Regions from separate parts of the Homo sapiens genome. Here region 1 is linked to region 2. The links are contacts of gene promoters, found by promoter capture Hi-C in blood cells and fetal thymus (Javierre and others, 2016). All regions are on one chromosome and are shown on one strand. The core of a region is centred on a gene start or on the middle of the fragment in contact, and the rest is flanking DNA. Distances in the headings are between cores, read along the strand shown.

The links. Contacts are between HindIII fragments. The CHiCAGO score rates a contact against its expected background, and 5 or more counts as called.
Region 1: a fragment that was not itself captured here is called in contact with the fragment with the promoter of ESYT3 in region 2 in 2 of 17 cell types (megakaryocytes and M0 macrophages); the score reaches 7.4 in megakaryocytes.

Annotation. Positions count from the first base shown.
Region 1 is chr3:138,923,995-138,929,402 of GRCh38, reverse strand. No RefSeq gene overlaps it. Among named protein-coding and RNA genes, the nearest start is that of LINC01391, 17 kb to the left of the region's middle. The HindIII fragment of the contact is 3,135 bases long and covers 2,030-5,164 here.
Region 2 is chr3:138,433,286-138,438,638 of GRCh38, reverse strand. It overlaps ESYT3 (extended synaptotagmin 3), which reads right to left and starts at 4,023. Exons shown (of 23, transcript NM_031913.5): 1 at 3,514-4,023. The coding sequence starts at 3,840. The HindIII fragment of the contact is 865 bases long and covers 3,606-4,470 here.

The sequences.
Region 1 (5,408 bases), core at 2,348-4,847, 490 kb before region 2:
CTCCACTCCACCTGCAAAATCAAAAACTCTGGAGGTGGGGCCCAGGAATTCGCCCTGTAACAAGCTCTCCACGAGATGCGGAGGCTCCCTCACTCAAGTTTGAGGACCACTGACCTTGGGGTGCCCCAACAAACAAAGGATCCAGGCCCCCGCGGGCCGTTGGCCAGGAACTCCGACTTCCCCGCCCCAGTCGCCCGGAGCCCCTCAGTGCCGTGTCTCCGTGTCCCCGCCAAAGATCGCAGGATAGGCAGGCCCGGGGCCGTCGGCGGCAGCCTCGCAGGGAGGAATGGTGGGTGGCCTTGAGATTCCTCTCTGGCTTATTTTGTTCCATTCCGGGAGTAATAATTTGTTTCGTATTGGAATCAAAGGGCCTTTCGTGGCTCTTCCGTTCTATCTCGTCAGCTCTCATGCCCAGTAGGAAGAGGCTCGGCCGCGGTGCGGCGGCTGCTTCGCATTAGGGCGAGCGTGGTCCCCATTAGGCCACCAGCTCCATGCAGAGCTTGTCTCCACTAATGGCACGCATCTGACCGGGCTCTGCGCCGCGACACCCAGGGACCACCCCACGTCCCCCCGCACTGTTACAGATGGCCCCAGAGAAAAGCGGAACTGGGTGGCTGGAGCCAGCCTTGGCAGTCCGAAGAGCTCGTGTCCACTGCCTGGAAGTCACAGCCATGAGTGACTCTGTTTAGTGTCAGACGCTGACCCCAAAAGAGGGCTACAGGCCCTTGTCTCTTCAGGGGAAGTAAATACACAGGCCCTTAGACTTTGGGACCCGGGCCTGCCAAAAGTAACTCCTAAGGAGGAAAGCATGGCAGGGTTTCCCTGAAAGGGTGAGAGGAAAATGGCTGCGTTTTACCTGTCTACCTAGCACCTGTGCCGGAGCCCCTCACAGATGATCAAGGAAACACGGTAGACCTGTTTTTCTCCTGGTTTAGCATCCATTTTACAAACAGTATAGAACATCTAATGAAGAGAATATCAAAAACAAAAAGCCATAGCCAGGCCTCCTGCCTTAATATCCCTTCCAGACAAGGAGGCACTGAAAGCAGCCCCCACCACCCACTGGGGAAGGGGATGGTGTCCTCAGCCCTGGCCAACCAAGGCCGCATGCCTTCCACACACACCTTCTTAAGGGTGACAAAGGATCTGTGCTGTGGACCTGCCAGGGTGTGGAGAAATAGGCAGACCCCTGCAACCACCAGAGCAAAGAATGTTACACAAAAGGCCCCATTGTTCGGGTCAAATTTCACACTTATTTTCTTTGATTTTATTAAATGTTTTATTGCACAAACAATATTGTAGTAATCATGGAAACTCGAAATTCAGATGGAAAGCCAATAACCATCCAACGTCTAACCACTAACAAAGCAATTCTTTTCATTTTTCCATATTGGTACACAATTCCCAGCTGTTTAACAACTGTATGACATATTATATGTCATACATATGTATATGTATAACATATTCAGCCACATGGATGTGGCCCAATTTATTTAATTCCTACATTTAGGATGTTTCCAGGTTGTTCACTACTATCAAAGGGAAACATTGCAATGGGCATTTGGAGATTTGTTTCTTTCCTTTATTTATTGAGGAATGCACATTATTTTAATAACTTTTATGTGATTAAATAGGCAATAGATATTTTTTGCAGGGAATTTGAAAAATTCAGATCATAAAAATCAGCCATAATCCCAAATGCCCTTTTGCTCATTAAGCTTTTCTCACCTCTGGGCTGGGCACAGTGGCTCATACCTATAATCCTAGAGCTTTGGGAGGCCAAGGTGGAAGGATTGCTTGAGGCCAGGAATTCACAAGTAGCCGGGGCAACATAGCAAGACCTGTCTCTACAGAAAAAAAAAAATTAATTAGTCGGGCATGGTGGCACATGCCTGTAGTCCTAGCTATTCAAGAGGATTCCTTGAGCCCAGGAGGTCAAGGCTGCAGTGAGCTATAATCGTGCCACTGTACTCCAGCCTGGGTGACAGAGCAAGACTCTGTCTCTAAAAATAAATAAATAAATAAAGCTTTTCTCACCTCTGAACTCTTACAGCACATGTTCTCTTTACCCCCATGATTTGACTCAGTTGTTTTCATCAGGTCTTACTTTGCGTTTCATGGCTGTTTGTCTTTTCCATACTCCTTAATTGTAATATTATTGAAGGCAAAAACCATGCCTTTTTCATCTGGAAATAACCATGATAGCTAGCTTTTATTTGGTGCCTATTCTATGCCAGCCATGATACATTATCTCACTTAGTTCCCACAAACTATATTTCCTTTTAATATGTAAGGAAAGTGAGACTGAGCAAGATTAAATAACTTGTGCAGGGCCCCCAGCCAGTAAATAGCACAGGGACAGAGGCCAACTCCACATTCTAACTGGGATCTTGCCACTGTAGGGATGTAAAGTAGAACTGTATTAGACAGATGACCTCTAAAATTTCCTGTGATTCATGACAATATTAATCTAGCTGTGGTTTAATAACCTGCTATATCTGCATCAATTACAATACAATACTGTGGGATTTTATTTTAAAAGGAATGTAAATAATGAGGGCTTTATTATCTCACAATAAAGAAGACAGAGATTACTGGCTGTAGGCTATAGGTACAGTCACTCTAAAACTTGGGCACAAGCCCTGCTACTTGTATCTTTTACCTCTGTGGACTGTAACAGACATCACATTCAGAATTTATTTTTCTTTTTTTTTTTTGAGACAGAGTCTCCCTAGAGTAAGACCCAGGCTGGAGTGCATTGGCCAAATATTGGCTCATTGCAAGCTCTGCCTCCTGATTTCAAGCCGTTCTCATGTCTCAGCCTCCCAAGTAGTTGGGATTTTGGGATTACAGGCATATGCCACCATGCCCAGCTAATTTTTCGTGTGTTTGTGTGTGTGTGTGTGTGTGTGTGTGCGCGTGCATTTAGCAGGAATGGGGTTTCACCATGTTGTCCGGGCTGCTCTCGAACTCCTGACTTCAAGTGATCCACCTGCCTTCAGCCTCCCAAAGTGCTGGGATTACAGGTGTGAGCCACTGCACCTGGCCCACATTTAAAATTTAAAAAAAGAAAGAAAGAAAGAAAGAAAAATTCTGATGGGAAAAGGAGCCATTTCTTCCAGACTCTTTCTTAGAAGTCTGATCCACTCTCCCTGAATCCCTCAGTAGAGTTCCCTATTCATCTCATGGGCCAGGACTGAGTCTGTTACATGCTGGTTCCTAAACCAACTGTTGGCAAAAGAATGAGACCACCATGGCTGACTCAGATAACTGGGATCTGCCTAAGAGTAGAGGCCAAGGTCTCTATGATTTTGTTGTTGTTGTCGCATACTCTGCTTATGTAATTTTTTTTCTTTTTTGAGACAGGGTCTCACTCTGTTGCCCAGGCTGGAAGGCAGTGGCACAATCATAGCTCGCTGCAGCCTCGAACTTCTGAGCTCAAGCGATCCTCCTGCCTTGGCCCCCCAAAGTGCTAGGACTACAGATGTGAGCCACTGCACATGGCCCTATGTAATATTTGAGTTACTTATATCCTTGAACAAAATCAGAGTTCCCTGACAAGGAAGAGAGGATGAAATGGCTGATAGGGAGACAGATAATACTATAATCTTAAAATAAAAAAAAGTACCAGCTGGGCACAGTGGCTCATGCCTGTAATCCCATCACCTTGGGAGGACAAAGTGGGAGGATCACTTGAGTCCAGGAGTTAGAGACCAGCCTGGGCAACGTGGCAAAACCACATCTCTACAAAAAAATTAACCGCTGTGGTGGTGCATGCCTGTGGTCCCAACTATTTGGAAGGCTGAGGTGGGAAGATCACCTGAACCTGGGAGGCGAAAGTTGAAGTGAGCTGAGACCTCACCACCACTGCACTCCAGCCTGAGAGATAGAGACCCTGTCAAAATTAAAAAAAAAAAAAAGGTACAGAAATAATGAATATATGTGAGCTACAAGTTAAGCAGTCTGAATATTTCCTTCTCTCACTTGGAATATTATTACTCATCTTTATTTATTTATTTATTTTTGCAATGGAGTCTCGCTCTGCCACCCAGGCTGGAGTGCAAGAGCGCTACCTTGGCCCACTGCAACCTCTGCGTCCTGGGTTCAAGTGATTCTTCTGCCTCAGCCTCCTGAGTAGCTGGGATTACAGGTGCCCACCACCATACCTGGCTAATTTTTGTATTTTTACTAGAGATGGGGTTTCACCATGTTGGCCAGCTGGTCTCGAACTCCTGACCTCAGGTGATCTGCCCGCCTCAGCCTCCCAAAGTGCTGGGATTACAGGCGTGAGCCGCCGCACCCAGCCTATTGCTTATCTTTAAGTCAGTCTATAGTTGTAAATAAATCAGCTAGATTTAACTGGGTGTTTGTGTTTTAAACTACAAAGTTTTGCAGGATAAAGAAAAAGGAACTCAATGTATGGTCTTGAGACTGGACTGCCAATGGGATCAGAGGTCTCTCTGTCTCTCAGCAGCCCTGTCTCTCTCTCCTGGACTGCATGATCTTTCCCAAGACCTCCCTGCTTCTTTTGCATGTCCCCCTGTTCTCTGCTGAATTGACCACTCCCTCCTGGATTTGTTATACATATGGCCACTGAGGACCCTCCAGCCCCTACTCCTTCTACAAATTGAAAACCTCTCTTGGAAATTCTTAATTCCAATCTCCAAGGGACAAACTACTTGAGGCTACTCATCCTGTCAAGACAAGTCACCTCAGAGGTTGCTGGCCTACCCAGTACCTGGAATGGTGGCCCTGGGGTCACAGGCCAGCCTTGGTCCAAGAAAGAGGACAGGGTCACTTGTCAGAAAACCTTACTGCTGAACACCTCCCGGGTTCAAGTGATTCTCCTGCCTCAGCCTCTGGAGTAGCTGGGACTACAGGCGTGTGCCACCACACCCAGCTAATTTTTGTATTTTTAGTACAGACGGGGTTTCACCATGTTGGCTAGAGTGGTCTCAAACTCCTGACCTCAGGTGATCCACCCGCCTCGGCCTCCCAAAGTGCTAGGATCACAGGCGTGAGCCACCGCACCCAGCCAGAGAGGAAGTGTATTTGTATATTTCACCCTGTCTTTCACAGGGGTTGTTTCAATGGCAAGCAAGTGAATTGAGCCAAAGAGACCCAATTGCAGAACTTTTGTAGGGACTGAAGGCAAAGAGAAGCTTCTTTCCACTAAGATTGATAGCTGTGGGGAAGAAATAAGCCCAAAACTTTAGAGAGCACCCAAGTGGAGAAAGCCTGCATGGGAGTAAAGCCAGCACAAAGGAAAGCAGAACAGACAGGAGTAAGACTGCGCTCTGACCACGCTGTTCAAGCTCCTGGATCCAGTTATACCTGAAGACTTGCCATGAGTTTTCAGTGACAAACCAATACACTTTCTTTCTTTCTTTTTATTTATTTATTTATTT
Region 2 (5,353 bases), core at 2,774-5,273:
ATCACCTGGAGGTAGCATCTTGGAGCAAAATGTTGAGAAGGAGTCTAAGACCAGGCAGGAAAGTCGTGCATGACTGAGGACTGGCTGACGATGGCTGCCTTGGATGGCAGTGGGGAAGGATGGCATCCCCGCCTCAGCTCAGCCAGGCCTTGGCCTCCACTCCTTCACAGGGAGTTGGTGCAAATTAGAAAAAGGTGCCCCATCTAAGCAGCATACAGCTTGACAAGCAGCAGGTGGCCGGATATCCATCCCTCCCCACTGGGGGCTAGAGTACAGGGCCAACTCACACGACATGCAATGCAGGTCTGAGTGTGGTGCCCTTGAGCTGCTCAACTTTTCTTCAGTCCCCCAACTACTGATTTGCCATCTGTTAACTTACAGAAATATTTCTTGATACCAAAGGAGGTCATAAGCCATCATCCTCTCTTTCACGCAGAGAAATCAGTTCTCCAGAGGGAAGGCATGCTAAAAGGTCAGCATGTGATGATGAAGAGATCCATTCATCCATGCCCAAAATCTTGTGCAAGGGGCCGTGCTGCCCCCACCACGCCCAGAGCCCTGTCTCTCTTTGCCTTCACAGTTTGTGTTCCTAAAGAGGCAGAGAGAAGAATATTCAACCAGGTAGACTCCAGGTTTTCCATATCATCACTGGGCGTGGAAACCTTCACGAGGCGGGTGAAAAGCCCACACCTGCATCTGTTTGTATGCACTTCACAGGTGTTCATACAGGCAACCAACCTCCCCAGACCTGTTTCTCATCCTGGAATCCCAATCGCAATAATGGTCAACAGCTCCCTAAACCAGAAAGCACCCTGAAGACCCCTGGATCCCCCTGCACCCCTACTCTAGAGGCCACCACGCATCTAAAGTCCCACTCCCACGCATCTCCCACTCTCCTCCCTCATTACTACCATCTTGGCTGAAATCACCTTCCCAACTGGCCTGTCTCCTCCAGCCTTCCTCGTCCCACCATGCTGCTTTCTGAAGGGCCTTTCAGAAGCATCCAAGGCTCCTTCCAGCCTTCAGAACAAGGCCAGCCTCCATCAAGTCTGCCTCAACTTGACCCTGTCACACATCAACCCCTACCACACACTTCAGCCAGGCCCAGCACACAGCGCCCCCTCATGCAGTGGCTATGTCACACCTCCATGCTGTGCTCACCACCTCCCTCGGCCAGAATGCCCTGTGCCGCACCAGTGGCCCAGTCCAACAGGTTATCCAGGCCCTGGTCCTCCAACCTGGCCAGACAAGCCAGCCAGGCGAGTCTGCAGAATGCAGGCTGAAGCCAGCCTTTCCCAGGTCCTTGTCAAGGAGAAAGGGGGCTGTGATTCGGGGACAATATGATATGGAAACCTGGTAGGGTGTCCTTCATACCAGGCCTTCTACCTGACTAGACCCTGTTCCGACTCCTGGCTCCAATTCTCCTCAATGGCAATGACCTGTTATGCATCTGTCCCCCACCCGAGACTGCCTTCTTGGTAGGACAGAGAGCATCACCTTCCTCTGAGTGTCCCTCTACCCAGCTGGGTCAAGCCTGGGATATGGGTTGTGGGGTGAAAACCTAGGAGGTGCCTTCTTGAGTTCAGGCTGAGCTCCCTGTTGGCTAGGTCCATATTGCTCCTGGGGTCTGTATCCCCAACAGAGGCCAGAACTGTCTCTGTGGTGTATGTGGGGGAGAGGCAGGGAGGGTGTCCACGCCCCTACACGATCTGATTTTTGACCCAATATCGGATATACTGCCTTTACATATAGCTCAGTGTCTAGAGGCTTCCCTGATACAGAAGGGGAGAAAAGAAGGGATGTTACTTGGTGAAGACTCGCAGGCCCACCCTCATGGGCTAAGGCCATCAAGGGGGACAAAACAGAGATCTGACAGATGGCCTGGACTCCCTCAACTGTGTGCAAGGGGTGTGGACAGGTCAAGCCTGCTGGGTCCACACCTTTCAGAATCACAAGCCCCACAGAACCATCAGGATGACCAAAGTCTGTGGGAGTCAGGCCCCATGCGCTACCCCTATGGCTACTACCGTAGAAAAGTGTGCACCCTTATCAGGAAGAGTCTTTGGCCCCTCATCCCCCAAATATGTAAGCTATTTGCAAAGCTTTACCATCAAATCGTACATTAAATATTAAGTGTTATGAAGTGTATGCCCACTTTGAAGTGCTAATTCTCAGTTCTTCAGAATGTGATTCTATTTGCAGGTAGGGTTTTTAAAGTGGTAATTAAGTTAAAATGAGTTCATTAGGGTGAGCCTTAATCCAATATGACTGATGTCCTTCTAAGAAGAGATTAGGACACAGAAGGAAGACGGTGTGAAGACGGTAGGAAGACAGCCAGCTGCAAGCCAGCAGAGGCCGCAGGAGAAACCAACCCTGCCAACACCTTGATCTTGGACTTCGGGGCTCTAGAAAGGAAAGGAAAAAAGTGTCTGCTGCTTAAGCCACGCAGCCTGTTGTACTCAGTTATGGCTGACTGATACAGTAAGACTTCATTTCTCTTATAAGATAAACTAAATGGGCCTTATATTTTTTTCTCACACCTCACTTTACAGACTACTGTCAGGAGGAACCTATGGCCCTGCTGGACTTTATAGGCCACAGGCTAGAGACAGTGAGGGGTCTGGCGACCTCCCCCGTGGGCCTGAGAGTAACTGGAAGAAATCTGAAAACGAAGAGCCCCAGCACCGGAGAGACAGTAAGGGTTTGCCGCAGACCAACCATTGGACGGAACACCCCTCTTGCCGGTGTTTCCCAAGCTCACCTAATCATAAGAATCACCCAGGATACCTCTGTGCCACCCTGGGAGTTATGCAATGGGGCCCAGAACTTGGGTTTTGTTAGGTAAGCCAGGACCAGAAGCGTTTGAGGAATCGTAGTGCCGCCCATGCCGCCCCAGGAGATGGGTTTGTCGGGGCAGTGTGCGTGTGCCGGCATCCCTATCCGGCGGAGGGAGGGAGGGAAGGAGGCCCGGGGCCCGGCGCCGTCGGTCTCCCAGCCGTACCCGCCACTCCACCTCCAGCCCCGCGGAGCCCTCCCCCTACCGCAGTCCAGGCCTCGGCCGAAAGCAACTGGGCCCGCCGTTTCTGTCACTGCGGTATTTGCCCATCTACGTTTTGCGTCCGGCGTTCGTTCTCTGAATCAACAGGCGGGTGGAAGAAATGCCTTCTGATTCCAACCCGAGTAAGTCTGCGAAGTCCCAGACGCCCTTGTTTTTCTCCCGGGTGTGGTCTGCCCGTGACTCTTCTCTCGAGCTCTGGGGCCTTAAATGAAACCCAAGTTCCCCACTCCCACCGCAGTCGGACCAGAGGTGGACGTGAGGGTGCTGCGCGCCGCGGGAGGGGCGGTCACCGTCCCCAGGGTCTGCGCCCCGGGAGCGGTGGGGAACGGGGTGTGCAGGTCGCCGGGCTCCCGCCCTGCCTCGGGTTTGCGCGCACCAGCTCCCCGCTGACCGCAAGTTCCTCCGAACCTCGAAAGGCATCTCCCCACCTCCCACTCCCACCCGGCTTGGCTCACCCAGGCTGGCAGGTGCTGGCCCCGCAGCTCGCGGCTGATGAACTCGCGTTCATTGTCAAGGAATTCGAAGGCGGCGGCCAGGCGCCCAAGCTTCCCGCGGCGGTTCCTGCGCCACCACATCCACAGCAGGGCGCCGAGCAGCAACCAGGTTATGCTGAGCCCCAGGTAGCCAGCTAGGTAGACAGGCCCCAGGTAGAACAGCACGCGCACCACGAAGGTACAGAGCTCGGGCAGCAGCTGGCTGGACAGGCGCAGCTCGGGGCCCGGCGTGCGCTGGGCTCCCAGGGCGCTGGGGGCCCCGGGGGCGCAGGGCTCCTCTGCTCGCATCTCGTCGCCGCAGTCTTGCCCTTCCCGAGAGCTTCACCCGAGCTTAGGTCCGCATGCCCCCACGCCCATGCGCATCTGTCTCCCAAGCTCGAGGACCAGGACGCCGCGCCCCCTTGCCCTGCTGGGACTCTCGGCGCGCCGAGCTCAGGGTTCTCTGCGACGGAGAGCAGCGCCTGGAAATGCACCGCGCCGCGCCGCGCCGCCCCAGTTCTCGGCTCCAGTGAGTCCGCAGCTCCGGAAGTCTCCGCCCTAGAGGGGCGGGCCGCCCGCCTGGCTCCTGCCCGCTCTAAAGAGCAACCAGCCGGTGAGCTCGGCCTCCGACCCCAGCACGTGGCGCAGGCGTCAGCCGGAGGTGTGCACTCGCCAGTCCGGGTGGACCAAGTGCTGCCCTAGGTGGTTAATGACTCACCAACACCTGTGTACAACTGGCTTATCATGGATAAACATCACCTAAAACCTGTTTCCTACACGCGGTCTATAATACACAGTATAGTCTGGACTCAGCTGGCATTCGAGGCCCTCCCTGGACAGGCTCAGCCAGGCCTCCCCAGCCTCAGGTCCTGCGTCCCGGCCCTCCAACTGGCCCCTAGAGCCTGCAACGCTGCCAGCTCCTCTGGCATCTGTAAAGCTTGGACCTAGCCCCCAGCCTCACCAAGCCGAGCTCAGGGCCCCTCCTGCGCGCCACAAAACCCTCTGCCCCTCTCTCCCCATCCTCTCTTCTAGGTGTCTGTTTGGATCGTCATTCCCTGCATCATCAGACGGGGAACTTCCGGGGACCGGCCCGTCTTGGCCATCTGTGGGGCGCCCAACAAGGGCAAGCGACCGGCGAATAAAAGGAAAGATGAAGAGGAAGCCCCGAGGTGCCTGAGAGTCAATGGTGAAGCCCATGGTTTCTAACCCTTTAATGATCAGAGCAGGTGGAGCTCCGAATCTCTTAAGTTCGGATAGTAAATCGTCTTGCGGATAGCATATATTTCAGACGGCCACATGAAAGGGCTCACATCAATTACTGGAATGTGATTTTGGAGTTGACAAATGTACCAGAGTGATTTGGAATGACTCTACTGTTTCAACAGCTTTATCGAAAGGCTGGAGCCGATGGATAGCAATCAAAATATTCTCTTTCCTTTTCTCTCTCTCCCTCCCTCCCCCCTCCCCACCCCGCCCCGGTCTCCCGTTCTCGTTCTGACTCTTGCTCTGTCACTCTCTTTTTCTCTCTCTGGCTTTATCCTCTCTCTTGGATAAAATTACTTACTGCAATGAGTTTTTTCAACAATACGTGAGTTCCTGGTGGTCAGAATACCTGGACCCTTCTCTATTGTTCTTGGCTTTCCAGGACTCAGCCAAAACAGAGGCTTAAAGTCCCCCAACTTAACATTCTCCCAGTGTAGCCTGGGAAATCAACGGAAGAAATGCTGCTCGCTGGAGTTCCTTCTTGAGAGTTGCATGTACACAGTCCTAGTAAAGGCTCTGAGAAGTCCTTCAGACAAAAAGTTATTAAATTCTATTTAAC